Regions from separate parts of the Homo sapiens genome. Here regions 2, 3, 4 and 5 are each linked to region 1. The links are contacts of gene promoters, found by promoter capture Hi-C in human tissues and cell types (Jung and others, 2019). All regions are on one chromosome and are shown on one strand. The core of a region is centred on a gene start or on the middle of the fragment in contact, and the rest is flanking DNA. Distances in the headings are between cores, read along the strand shown. Region 1 holds the start of KLB (klotho beta). Region 2 overlaps PDS5A (PDS5 cohesin associated factor A). Region 3 overlaps PDS5A (PDS5 cohesin associated factor A). Region 4 overlaps FAM114A1 (family with sequence similarity 114 member A1). Region 5 overlaps FAM114A1 (family with sequence similarity 114 member A1).

Region 1 (2,586 bases), core at 55-2,554:
AGACCGAGTCTTGCTCTGTTGCCCAGGCTGGAGTGCGGTGGTGCGATCTCAGCTCACTACAACCTCCACGTCCCAGGTTCAAGAGATTCTCCTGCCTCAGCCTCCCAGGTAGCTGGGATTACAGGTGCCCACCACCGTGCCCAGCTAATTGTATTTTTAATAGAGACGGGGTTTCAACATGTTGGCTAGGCTGGTCTCAAACTCCTGACCCCAAGTGATCTGCCTGCCTTGGCCTCCCAAAGTGGTGGGATTATAGCCATGAATCACTGTGCCTGGCCTTTCGTAATAATTTTCTTGAACTAAAATTTGGGATTAGGCCAGGCATGGTGGCTCACACCTATAATCCCAAGCACTTTAGGAGGCCGAGGCAGAAGGGCTGTTTGAGCCCAGGAGTTCAGGACCAGCCTGGGGGACATAGCTAGACCCCACCTCTACCAAAAAATCAAAAATCAGCTGGGCATGGTGGCATGTGCCTGTTGTCCCAGCTACTTGGAGGCTGAGGAGGGAGGATTGCTTAAGCCTGGGAAGTTGAGGCTGCGGTGAGCTGTGATGACACCACTGCACTCCAGCCTAGGCTACAAAGCAAGACTCTTATTAAAAATTAATTAATTAATTAAAAAATTAGAGATTAGAGAATTTTAGTTAAGTTAAATAAATAAAATAAAAAATAAAATTAGAGATTAGAGGATTTTAGTTAAGTTAAATGTATTAAATTGAAAAGTATTTCATTTTTCCATCCACAAAGTGCTATATTTTCTCATTCAAGTCTTCTCTCAAATCTACCAATACATTTTTGCAATTTTCCTAAAATAGGTAACATTTATTAAGATTGTTCTTAGATGCGTTATAATTTTGTGGAGAAGTGTAATTTCTTATTGTGTTTTCTAATTCTTTACTATTGGTATGTAGGAATGCTATATACTTGTATATGTTATTTTTCTTGATATATGAGATTATAAAATTACCACACAAAAACTCTAAAAATAGAAAAGCTATATACCTTATTCAATAATGTTCAAAACATTCAGAAAAGATTTGGGTCAATATGAAAGGCTACACGGAAAATAATGTGATTTTAATCCAGTGTTTACATATGTGTTAGTTACACATTCAAACTCTTGTCACCGATGCATTTTCATCTAATTTTTTCCATAATGAGAGAGAAGGAGACGCGTTGGTGACTGCAATAGGGCCACCTCCCTCAAATTACGTTGCTCTCTATGACCCATCCTCAGTCTCCCAGTTCAAGCTAATCATTGACAGAGCTTTACAATCACAAGCTTTTACTGAAGCTTTGATAAGACAGTCCAGCAGTTGGTGGCAAATGAAGCCAGGCTGTGCGGCAGGATCTCCAGGGAATGAATGGATTTTCTTCAGCACTGATGAAATAACCACACGCTATAGGAATACAATGTCCAACGGGGGATTGCAAAGATCTGTCATCCTGTCAGCACTTATTCTGCTACGAGCTGTTACTGGATTCTCTGGAGATGGAAGAGCTATATGGTCTAAAAATCCTAATTTTACTCCGGTAAATGAAAGTCAGCTGTTTCTCTATGACACTTTCCCTAAAAACTTTTTCTGGGGTATTGGGACTGGAGCATTGCAAGTGGAAGGGAGTTGGAAGAAGGATGGAAAAGGACCTTCTATATGGGATCATTTCATCCACACACACCTTAAAAATGTCAGCAGCACGAATGGTTCCAGTGACAGTTATATTTTTCTGGAAAAAGACTTATCAGCCCTGGATTTTATAGGAGTTTCTTTTTATCAATTTTCAATTTCCTGGCCAAGGCTTTTCCCCGATGGAATAGTAACAGTTGCCAACGCAAAAGGTCTGCAGTACTACAGTACTCTTCTGGACGCTCTAGTGCTTAGAAACATTGAACCTATAGTTACTTTATACCACTGGGATTTGCCTTTGGCACTACAAGAAAAATATGGGGGGTGGAAAAATGATACCATAATAGATATCTTCAATGACTATGCCACATACTGTTTCCAGATGTTTGGGGACCGTGTCAAATATTGGATTACAATTCACAACCCATATCTAGTGGCTTGGCATGGGTATGGGACAGGTATGCATGCCCCTGGAGAGAAGGGAAATTTAGCAGCTGTCTACACTGTGGGACACAACTTGATCAAGGTACTGTACAGCTAGCTTCTTCTTATAGCTTCAGAAAACACTAAGAATTTAAGAATTTACCTTCTGCCTCAGTAATTCTCTTCACTGAAATCAAGGCAACTGATTTTAAGCTAATTCAAAAGATCTATCCTCAAATTTTGCATTTAAGTTAGTGTATGTTTTATTTATCTAAGGTATTTTTAATGTATTAATCCAATTAGTTTTTTCAAAAGTTGCACTTTGAGGCTATTTTTAAATCTACCATTATACACTACAGTGTGAATATATGAGCTTACTTTCATTCTGTGGGAAAACAGTGCTTCATAAATTTAATTGTTGGAACCCTTTTCTGACAACATGCAATCATTTCAGAATTATCTTAAGGCACAACCATTTCAAATATGTATTTGTTGTTAAGTATAGCTAACTTAGCTAATAAGTAAATAAAGTAAGTAAAT
Region 2 (2,586 bases), core at 31-2,530, 550 kb after region 1:
CATGTGCCACCACCCTCGGCTAATTTTTGTATTATTTTAGTAGAGGTGGGGTTTCACCATGATGGCCAGGCTGGTCTTGAACTCCTGACCTCAGGTGATCCACCCGCCTTGGCCTCTCAAAGTGCTGGGATTACAGGTGTTAGCCACCGTGCCCAGCCTGAAATACATTGTCAAGACATAAATAAGTACCCATTGTCAAGAGATAAGTAAAAAAAAAAAAAAAAAAAAAAAAAAACAGAAACAGAGGTGGACCAAACGCTAAAGCTATCAGACAGAGACGTTAAAATAACTATGAGGCCAGGCAGAGAGCCTCATGCCTGTTAATAGGCATGAACACTTTGGGAGGCTGAGGCAGGAGGATCACGTGAGTCCAGGAGTTTGAGACCTGGGCAACATGACAAACCCCGTGTCTACAAACAATACAAAAATTAGCTAGGCGTGGTAGCACATGCCTGTAGTCTCTACTACTTGGGAGGCTGAGATGGGAGGATGGCTTGAACCCAGGAGGTGGAGGCAGCAGTGAGCCATGATCATGAAACTGAACGCCAGCCAGCCTGGGTGACAGAGCGAGACCCTGTCACAAACAAAAAATATAAATAAATAAATAAAGCATGCTGATTATCATCAGGATTTAAAGTAAATCAGCACTTAGAGCTCACCCTGGCCAAACAAGAAAAGCCAAAATTAGGAATATTAAAGGACAATATGCTAAATCTAACTTAGAGTTTAAACCAAGAGCATTACATGAATAGAACATTTGGGATTTACCATGCTGAAAAATATACAAGGAAACAATACACGAATATGGACTTTGAGTGATAATGTTGTGATGTTGGTTTAGAAATATAGCACTCTAGGGCCGGGCGTGGTGGCTCAAACCTGTAATCCCAGCACTTTGGGAGGCTGAGGTGGGCAGATCACCTGAAATCAGGAGTTCGAGACCAGCCTGACCAACATGGTGAAACCCCGTCTCTACCAAAAATACAAAAAATTACCCAGGTGTCGTGGCGGATGCTTGTAATCCCAGCTTGGGAGGCTGAGGTGGGAGAACTGCTTGAACCCGGGGGAGCGGAGGTTGCAGTGAGCTGAGATCATGCTACTGTGCTCCAGCCCGGGTGACAGAGCGAGACTCTGTCATAAAAAAACAACAACAAAACAAACAAATGTACCACTCTGGAAGGTGACTGAGGGGAGGCATTACTGTGGGAGGCATGTGTGACTGGGGAGGGGAAGTCTTCCTGGGGGACGGGAGTGTTACTGAGGAGTGAGTCCAGGGGGTTTGTTGGGAATACTCTGTACATTCCAGCAATTTGGCTGTGAACCTAAAACTGCCCTAAAAAAAAAAGTCTGTTTAAAAATTTGAACAGTTAAGGCCGGTGTGGTGGTTCACACCTGTAATCACAGCACTTTGGGGGGCCAAGGCAGGTGGATTACCTGAGGTCAGGAGTTCGAGACCAGCCTGGCCAACATGGCGAAACCCCATCTCTACTAAAAATACAAAAATTAGCCAGACATGGTGGTGGCACACACCTGTAGTCCCAGCTGCTCGGGAGGCTGACGTGGGAGGATTGCTTGAACATGGGAGGCAGAGGTTGCAGTGAGCTGCGATCTCGCCACTGCACTCCAGCTTAAGAAACAGACTGAGACTGCCTCTCAAAAAAAAAAAAGAACAATTTTAAAAAACAGTATAAGAAAAACGTATAGAACAATTGAGATAGCAGCAGTGGATTACAGTATTAAACATTTGGCAGGGTGCGATGGCTCACACCTGTAATCCCAGCACTTTTGGGAGGCTATGGCAGGCAAATCACTTGAGATCAAGAGTTGGAGACTAGCCCGGCCAACATGCTGAAACCCTATGTTTACCAAAAAATACAAAAATTAGCCAGGTATGGTGGCTCATGCCTGTAGTCCCAGCTACTTGGGAGGCTGAGGTGGGAGGATCGCTTGAACCCAGGAGGCAGAAGTTGCAGTGAGCCAAGATTGCGCCACTGCACTCTAGCCTGGGTGACAGAGCGAGACTGTCTCAAAAAAAAAAAAAAAAAAAGTCTGATAAAATATCAAGGAAATATGAGAACTGAACACAGCAAACAAAGCTATACAACATTATTTCAAAAACATCTAAAGACAATTTTATTTTATTACTACCTGGTTTTTACCCTTTCTTCAAAGCTTTATAGGTATATGCTTCAAGAAGAAAGACAGATTTTCTTACTTTTTTTTTTTTGGAGACAGGTTCTCACTCTGTCACCCAGGCTGGAGTGCTGCGGCACAATTATGGTTCACTGTACACTTAATCTCCTTGGCTTAAACAATCCTCCTGCCTCAGCCTCCAGAGTGGGCAGGACTATAGGCGCCTGCACCACATCCAGCTAATTTTTGTATTTTTTGTAGAGAAGAGGTTTTGCCATGTTGCCCGCGCTAGTCTCAAACTCCTGGCCTCAAGTGATCTGCCTTGCCTCAGCCTCCCAAAGTGCTGGGATTACAGGCGTGAGCCACCTCACCCAGCCAAAAGACATTTTCTAAATAACTTCTGCCAGAAACAAAGTATTCTCTTTATCTACACTGACTCAATCTTCATGAATC
Region 3 (2,586 bases), core at 59-2,558, 530 kb after region 1:
AATAACAAGGTGGAAGAAAAGTATGTAACTCAAGAACAGTCAAACTGAAGAGACACATCAGCCAAAGTCTTGGGGGTGAAGAGGGGTGTGTGGATGGGATGGGGACACAGAGCTTCGTATACTCTTCTCATTGAATCTGGACATGTAATCCTCCCAGCATATCACTGTGTTCACCAACCACTAACCTCCCCTGAGCTTTAGTGTTCACAGGATTCACTGGGCTTTATGACGCAGGCATGAATGATAAAATCAAGACTGAACTCAATCTCCAGCCTCCCTCTTCTCCTGGGAGAAAGTTTCAATCCTCTAATTTAAGTGACCAGCCCCATCCTGAAGCTATCTAGTGGCACTGCCAGGAGCTGCCTCATTAGCGTAACAAAGACACTCTCACTTGGGAAATTCCAAGGGTTTTTGAGGCTCTGTGCCAAGAATCAGAACAAAGATCAGATCGATTATTATATGTCATATAATTTAAATATGTCCAAATTATTGTTCAGTAATTCAATTACACCTCAATACAGCTATTAAAAATTTTTTTTAATTTTATTTTTTGAGAAAGGTTCTCACTTTGTCGCCCAGGCTGGACTGCAGTGGTGTGATCAGGGATTACAACAGCCTCAACCTCCCTGGCTCAAGTGATCCTCCTGCCTCGGTCTCCTGAGTAGCTGGGACCACAGACGAATGCCACCATGTGCAACTAATTTTTATTTATTATTATTGGTAGAGATGGGGTCTTGTTATGTTGCCTAGGCTGGTCTCCAACTCTTGGCCTCAGGTGATTCTCCTGCCTTGACTTCCCAAAGTGGTGTAAGCCACTGTGTCCAGCCAAATGAACTTTTTGTAAGTCCAACATAGCAAATGAGAACTCTCACTCACTTTTTAATTGAAATGTAAATTGGTAGAACCACTTTGCTGCTTTCAGTTAAGTAGAAGACATACATGCCCAATGATTCAACAATTTCACCTCTGGTGGTGCCCTAAAGCAGCTAGAGTATGTATACAAGGATGACTGGAGTGTTAAGTTTAGCCTAAAGCTGCTTCCTTGCATAAATTCAGCCTAAAGGATTCTCCATACATAGTGAGCTGTACCTAACCAGATTGTAAAAAGACTGTAACCTACTCTCCTACCAATCACACAGAATTGTGGCCAATCACAGGTGGCTGACTGTTCAAACCGTGATCAAATAAGGCAAACACTGAGCTGTAACCAATTCACCTATTTCTATACCTCACTTTCGTTTTCTGTATATCACTTTCCTTTTTCTGTCCATAAATGTTATCTGACCACTTGGCAGCTCTGGAACTGTTCTGAACCTACTCAAGTTTGGAGGGGGCTGCCCAGTTTGTGAATCATTCTTTGCTCAATTAAATTCTGTTAAATTTAATGTGTCTGGGCCGGGCACGGTGGCTCACACCTGTAATCCTAGCACTTTGGGAGGCCGAGGTGGGTGGATCACCCGAGGTCAGGAGTTGAAGACCAGCCTGGCCAACATGGTGAAAACCCATCTCTACTAAAAATACAAAAATCAGCCAGGCGTGGTGGCAGGTGCCTGTAATCCCAGCTACTCGGGAGGCTGAGGCAGGAGAATCACTTGAACCGGGAGGCGGAGGTTGTAGTGAGCCAAGATCGTGCCACTGCACTCCAGCCGGGGTGACAGAGCAAGACTCTGTCTCAAAAAATACATATATATATATGTCTGAAGTTTTTATTTTAACAACAGCAATGTGGTTTGTAAAAGCCAAAAAACTACAAGTGAAAAATGTCAATAGAAGACTGATTAAACTGTATAATGAAATACTATATAAGTTAGGCCAGGCGCAGTAGCTCATGCCTGTAATCCCAGCACTTTGGGAGGCTGAGGCCGATGGATCACAAGGTCAGGAGATCAAGACCATCCTGGCCAACATGGTGAAACCCCATCTCTACTAAAAATACAAAAATTAGCTGGGCGTGGTGGCGCATGCCTGTAATTCCAGCTACTCAGGAGGCTGAGGCAGAAGAATCGCTTGAACCAGGGAGTCCGAGGTTGCAGTGAGCCAAGATCACACCACCGCACTCCAGCCTGGCAACACAGCGAGACTCCATCTAAAAAAAAAAAGCAATAATACAAAACTCAAACATAACACTGAAGACACAGTAACACAAGGAACCATATAGTATGATTCTAGCCATATAAAATTGAAAAAGTAAAACTAGAAAAAAGCCAGTCATGTTGGCCAATACCTGTAGTCCCAGCTACTTGGGAGGCTGAGGCAAGAGGATGGCTTGAGCCTAGATCAAGGCTATGGCTGAGCTATAGTTGTACATTGTACAGTGGCTCATGCCCGTAATCACACTTTGGGAGGGCGAGGCAGGAAAATCGCTTGAGCCCAAGTGTTGGAGACCAACCTGGGCAACATAACAAGACCTCATCTCTACCAATAATAATAAATAAAAATTAGCTGTGCATGGAGACATGCGCCTGTAGTCCCAGCTACTCAAGAGAATGAGATGGGAGGATCGCTTGAACCTAGGAGGGTGAGGCTGTAATGACCTCTGATCACACCACTGCAGTCCAGCCTGGGCGACAGAGTGAGACCCTTTCT
Region 4 (2,586 bases), core at 66-2,565, 530 kb before region 1:
CAGTCTCAAAGTCAGACACGGGTTCAAATTTCAAATGTAGAATTTACTAAAAGTGTGACTTCTGAGCTTCAGTTTCCTCGTCTGTAAAATGGAGCTGATAACATTCAACTCACAGGAGATAATACATTTAAAGAGCATGGATACAGTAAGCACTCAATAAATGATAGCTGTTGATACTATATATTCTTGAGAGGGTGAAAGCGTGGTAAATGACAGCTCTGAGTTATTGGGAAAATCTATGTGTGAGATGGTGTCTCATTATGGTTTTTATTTGCATTTCTCTAATGATTAGTGGTGGTGTGCATTTTTTCATATGCTTGTTGGCCACCTATATGTTTTCTTTTGAGAAGTACCTATTTATGTCATTTGCCCATTTTTTAATGGTTTTTGTTTTGTTTTTTGCTTGTTGATTTAAGTTCCTTACAGATTCTGGATATTAGACCTTTGTCACATGCATAGTTGCAAATATTTTCTGCCATTATGTAAGTTGTCTATTTATTCTGTTGGTAGTTTCTTTTGCTGTGTAGAAGCTCTTTTGTTTAATTAGCTCCCACTTGTCAATTTTTGTTTTTGCTGCAATTGCTTTTGGAGTCTTTGTCATGAAATCTTTGCCAGGGCCGATATCCAGGATAGTGTTTCCTATGTTCCTAGGTTTTCTTCTAGAGTTTTTATAGTTTTGGGTTTTACATTTAAGTCTTTAGTCCATCTTGAGTTTATTTTTGTATATGGTATAAGGAAGGGGAACAGTTTCAATCTTCTGCATATGGCTGGCCAGTTATCCCAGCACAATTTATTGAATAGGGAGTCCGTTCCCCATTGTTTGTCATTGTTGGCTTTGTCAAAGATCAGATGGTTTAGGTGTGTGGCTTTATTTCAGAGTTCTCTATTCTGTTCTGTTGGCTTATGTGTTTTATTTTTGTGCCAGTACCATGGTGTTTTGGTTACTATAACCTTGTAGTATAGTTTGAAGTTGGGTAGTGTGATGTCTCCAGCTTTGTTCTTTTTGCTTAGGAATGCTTTGTCTATTTGGGCCCTTTTTTGGTTCCACATGAATTTTAGAATATTTTTTTCTAATTCTATGAAAAACATCATTGGTAGTTTGATAAGAATAGCATTGAATCTGTACATTGCTTTGGGTAGTATGGCCATTTTAACAATAATGATTCTTCCTATCCATGAGCATGGAAAATTTTTCCATTTGTGTCATCTCTGATTTCTTTGAGCATTGTTTTGTAATTCTCATTGTGGAGCTCTTTCATCTCCCTGATTAGCTGTATTCCTACGTATTTTGTTCTTTTTGTGGCTATTGTGAATGGAATTGCATTCTTGATTTCACCGTCAGCTTGGACATTATTGGTGTATAGAAATGCTACTGATTTTTGTACATTGATTTTGTATCTTGAAACTTTGCTGAAGTTGTTTATCAGATCTAGGAGCCTTTGGGCAGAGACTATGGGATTTTCTAGGTGTAGAATCATATCATCTGCAAAGATAGTTTGTCTTCCTCTCTTCCTATTTTATTTCGTTCTCTTGTCTGATTGCTCTGGCTAGGACTTCCACTATTGTGTTGAATAGAAGTAGTAAGAGTGGGTATCCTCGTCTTGTTCTGGTTCCTAAGGGGAATGCTTCCAGTTTTTGCCCCTTCGGTATGATGTTAGCTGTGGGTTTGTCATAAAAGGCTCTTATTACTTTGAGATATGTTCCTTCAATGCTTAGTTTGTTGAGACAGAACATTTTTATCACCACCGAAAGTTCCATTGAATAGTGCTGTTCTACATGATATCAATAATTTGTAAGCTTTAAAAGAGTTTTCTGCTTTAATGGCTACATTCCTTATTTGGTTTCTACCTCACTTCTTACCCTTTAAGTTTATCCTTGACTAAACCATGGTCTAGACCTTCATCAGCTGGTCCCCAACAAGGAATACTGTGTGTGTATAGGTCTCTTTCTCACTGTGAATTTCTGACAAAGATGTTACAAAGCTAAATGGCAAGTATTTTTTTTGATAAGTGCTCAGGTATTTTCTAGACTTATTCTTTTTTCTTTTTTTTTTTTTTTTTTTTGAGACGGTCTCGCTTTGTCGCCCAGGCTGGAGTGCAGTGACACGATCTCAGCTCACTGCAACCTCCACCCCCCAGGTTCAAGCAATTATTGTGCCTCAGCCTCCTAAGTAGCTGGGACTACAGGTGCATGCCACCATGCCCAGCTAATTTTTGTATTTTTAGTAGAGACAGGGTTTCACCATGTTGGCCTTGGCTGGTCTTGAACTCCTGGCCTCATGTGATTCACCCACCTCAGCCTACCAAAGTGCTGGGATTACAGGTGTGAGCCATTGCACCCTGCCTTCCTATGCTTATTCTCATTATTGCTACAAATATAATTAATAAAGCCAGAGTCAATAATTTTAAAGATACAGGTATTACTCTTAGTTCCCATAGGCGTAGTCTTTCATGCCAAGTAAGAGCTCCAGGAAAGTTTAAAGATAGCCCTGTAGGTTTCTGTTAGCTTCCTATCAGTGCTGTGACAAATTACAACTAACTTCACGGCTTTTGCCAACACAGACTTATTCTCTTGGAGTTCTGGAGG
Region 5 (2,586 bases), core at 52-2,551, 510 kb before region 1:
TTCCCAGATAGAAAGAGAAAGCTGTGGTTCCCTACTTGAGTTAGGACTCATTGGTTGCAAGTAACAGAAACACGCATACCTGAGAAAATGGATGAGTTTCAGCCATTTATTCAACAAATATTTATTAAGCATTCATTATATTCCAAGCACTCTTCTAAGCTCTGAGAGTATATCAGTGAATAAAACATTTAAAAAAATGAACAAGAATATGAGAGAATCTCATAGAACCCAAAGATCAGAAAGCAGCAGGGCCTTCAGAGGGACAGAAACCAGGGACTGAGAAGCTGTCAGGAATCCAAACAGCAGCTCTAAGCCAGTCTCCATTCTGCTCACTCTGCCTTCTCTTAATTCTTAGTCTGCGTGGTGGATATAACAGGGTCATCCACATAGCCTGAGTTTTCAACTTCTGTTCATGCACACAGTTCACACTGAACCACAGTCTCTCAGTTCCAATTCCAAAAACCTAGGCAAACGAATTGGAATCCACTGAGGTCAGGGACAGTCTTATCCCTGTGTTATAGGAGTCACTATGAGTGAAGCAGGGCACCTTGAATCAAAGGTTTCTACCTTGCAAGCCTTCCTGTCACTACTGCCCATCCATCGCCAGGTGTATTGACGCTTTTTAGACACTTTGCCCATCATCCATGCCAAAGCACCTGCCTACTGCCCCAGAGTTTAAAAGTTAACTCTACCTTGAAGAGCACATTTTTTAAGCCCTGTAAGAATTGCCTGGGTCCAGATCATTTTGAACTTTTTCAAATCCCTCTTGTGCCCTCATGCGTATCTTTTTCCCATGCAGCCTTTTCCCTGTCTTCTAAATAATAAGAGAGAATCGAGGCTCAGTTAACATCAAACTCCCTTCTCACTTCAAACCAAGCCTTCAGAAGCCAACATCAGCACTAATCAATTTGGTTCCAAAGTACACATTGCAGTGTGGTTTGGGATATTCTTTTATGACCCTTATAAACTATAAGCCAATTAGATACGGTTGTTGGTGATTCTTTTCCAAACCTCCTCTTTGTTTCAAACCAATAGGTGTTTTTCCATTCAGAGATATACTGAATTTCTGACCTGTGGCTAATTTGTTTTTCTCCAGGCTGTGGATTCCCCTCCAAGTGGAGGAGGATGGGCAGGCTGGGGATCCTGGGGCAAATCTCTGCTGTCGTCAGCATCTGCCACAGTAGGTAAGCATTGTATGTTGCATTGGAATAGACAAAGTACCAAAGCCTAATAGGATAGGACGTTTTGATCGTACTGTATACTAATAGAGTTTAACATTAGCCCGTGAGCAAACCATGTTTAGTGCTTACTATTCTAAGTGCTTCATTTATTCCTCCAATACATTTGTTCCTCAAAATAACCCTATATGGAGGAACTGTTGTTTGCTGCACTTTACAGGTAAGGAAGCTAATCAGAGAGAGACTAAGACCTTGACCAAAGTCAGGAATGTCTGGGTTGCAATTTAAAAGCCAAGTAGTATGGCTTTTAGCCACTATATTATATGGTCTTTTAAAGTATAATATATTCTTAAAGCTTCGTGTTTATCGTCCCACTTGAATTTTTTTAGTGCACAACGCATCTACTCCCAAAAAGGATTTGAGATATCTTGATAAAAGGCATTTCATTAGCAGGATATTACAATATAAGGAGAAAACAATGTGCTGGTAGGGAGGATACATATTTTATACATCCCATGGCTAATAGAGTTTTTGTAATTGAGTATTGACCTCAACTCTGAGCTTCTTGGCTGCCAGTACATTATTTATTTCTCTTTGAAAACAAAATTTTAATTTAAATAAATATATTTTTCTGGTTTTAAATTTTTAAAGAAATTTCCTGTATTTGTTCTTATACAAAGAGAAAATATGATGGACAGTGTAGTGTCTTCCTGAGTGCAAATTTGTCATGATATTCTTCATGTTACCATTTCTTATATTCTCTCTTCATGAGAACTGAAGGTATAACATCAATATGTCTAAGATAATTTAGCAAAGGCATTTCATCTTGAAGGTGGAAGATAAGAAGATAGGGGAAGCCACAGGTAACAGAGTTTTCACATCATCCACTTCAGGTATTCTAAGGTGCAGTCCATGGCCATGAGGACCTTGCGATAGGCCATGAATTGGTCCACTTCACTGTTACTCCTAAAACCAGGAAGGTCTTCAGGCCTTTTGCCCCACCCCAGTGGACCATGACCACAGTGTTAAGGGCCAGATATCTAACTTGACAGAGCTTAGGCTGCCTGGAAGAATGGATAGATTGCATTCCTCTAATTCCATCTCTGTCAAATATCAGTTTGCTCAGGAAGGCTCTGGGAAGAAGTAGCAATGGCCAAATAAATGTTGACCTCTCTGGTAAGCCTGGAGAGCAGATTTTCTCTATTGCTTATTAAGGGGATGGCTATGCCTTGAGTACCACATATGCAGATGACAAATTTAACTAAATTCAAGTAGAGGCGCCTGTTTTGTTTTCTGAACAGGATGCTATCTCTTCACAAGGGTGAGGACAAGCACCTGCAGGCATCCTCTGTCCTTGGAAAAATGTTTGAACTTAGTGGCTATCAAAAGGATCTTGCCACTGGTGGCA

Evidence for each region. The method cuts DNA at HindIII sites, captures the fragments that hold promoters and counts their contacts. A contact is called where the count stands out against the background at its distance.
Region 2: a fragment that was not itself captured here is called in contact with the fragment with the promoter of KLB in region 1 in 1 of the 25 tissues and cell types used here (stomach).
Region 3: a contact is called between a fragment that was not itself captured here and the fragment with the promoter of KLB in region 1, in 2 of the 25 tissues and cell types used here (dorsolateral prefrontal cortex and heart right ventricle).
Region 4: a contact is called between a fragment that was not itself captured here and the fragment with the promoter of KLB in region 1, in 1 of the 25 tissues and cell types used here (lymphoblastoid cells).
Region 5: a contact is called between a fragment that was not itself captured here and the fragment with the promoter of KLB in region 1, in 1 of the 25 tissues and cell types used here (liver).

What each region holds. Positions count from the first base shown.
Region 1 is chr4:39,405,626-39,408,211 of GRCh38, forward strand. KLB (klotho beta) reads left to right here and starts at 1,305. Exons shown (of 5, transcript NM_175737.4): 1 at 1,305-2,149. The coding sequence starts at 1,325. The HindIII fragment of the contact is 19,436 bases long and covers 1-2,138 here.
Region 2 is chr4:39,954,463-39,957,048 of GRCh38, forward strand. The region is part of intron 2 of PDS5A (PDS5 cohesin associated factor A); the gene reads right to left. Among named protein-coding and RNA genes, the nearest start is that of PDS5A, 22 kb to the right of the region's middle. The HindIII fragment of the contact is 7,115 bases long and covers 1-2,586 here.
Region 3 is chr4:39,936,880-39,939,465 of GRCh38, forward strand. All of the region lies in intron 2 of PDS5A (PDS5 cohesin associated factor A), which reads right to left. Among named protein-coding and RNA genes, the nearest start is that of PDS5A, 40 kb to the right of the region's middle. The HindIII fragment of the contact is 6,528 bases long and covers 1-2,586 here.
Region 4 is chr4:38,874,127-38,876,712 of GRCh38, forward strand. All of the region lies in intron 2 of FAM114A1 (family with sequence similarity 114 member A1), which reads left to right. Among named protein-coding and RNA genes, the nearest start is that of MIR574, 7.4 kb to the left of the region's middle. The HindIII fragment of the contact is 3,064 bases long and covers 1-2,586 here.
Region 5 is chr4:38,890,647-38,893,232 of GRCh38, forward strand. FAM114A1 (family with sequence similarity 114 member A1) reads left to right here. Exons shown (of 15, transcript NM_138389.4): 4 at 1,097-1,184. Among named protein-coding and RNA genes, the nearest start is that of MIR574, 24 kb to the left of the region's middle. RefSeq lists an enhancer at 297-466. The HindIII fragment of the contact is 5,098 bases long and covers 1-2,586 here.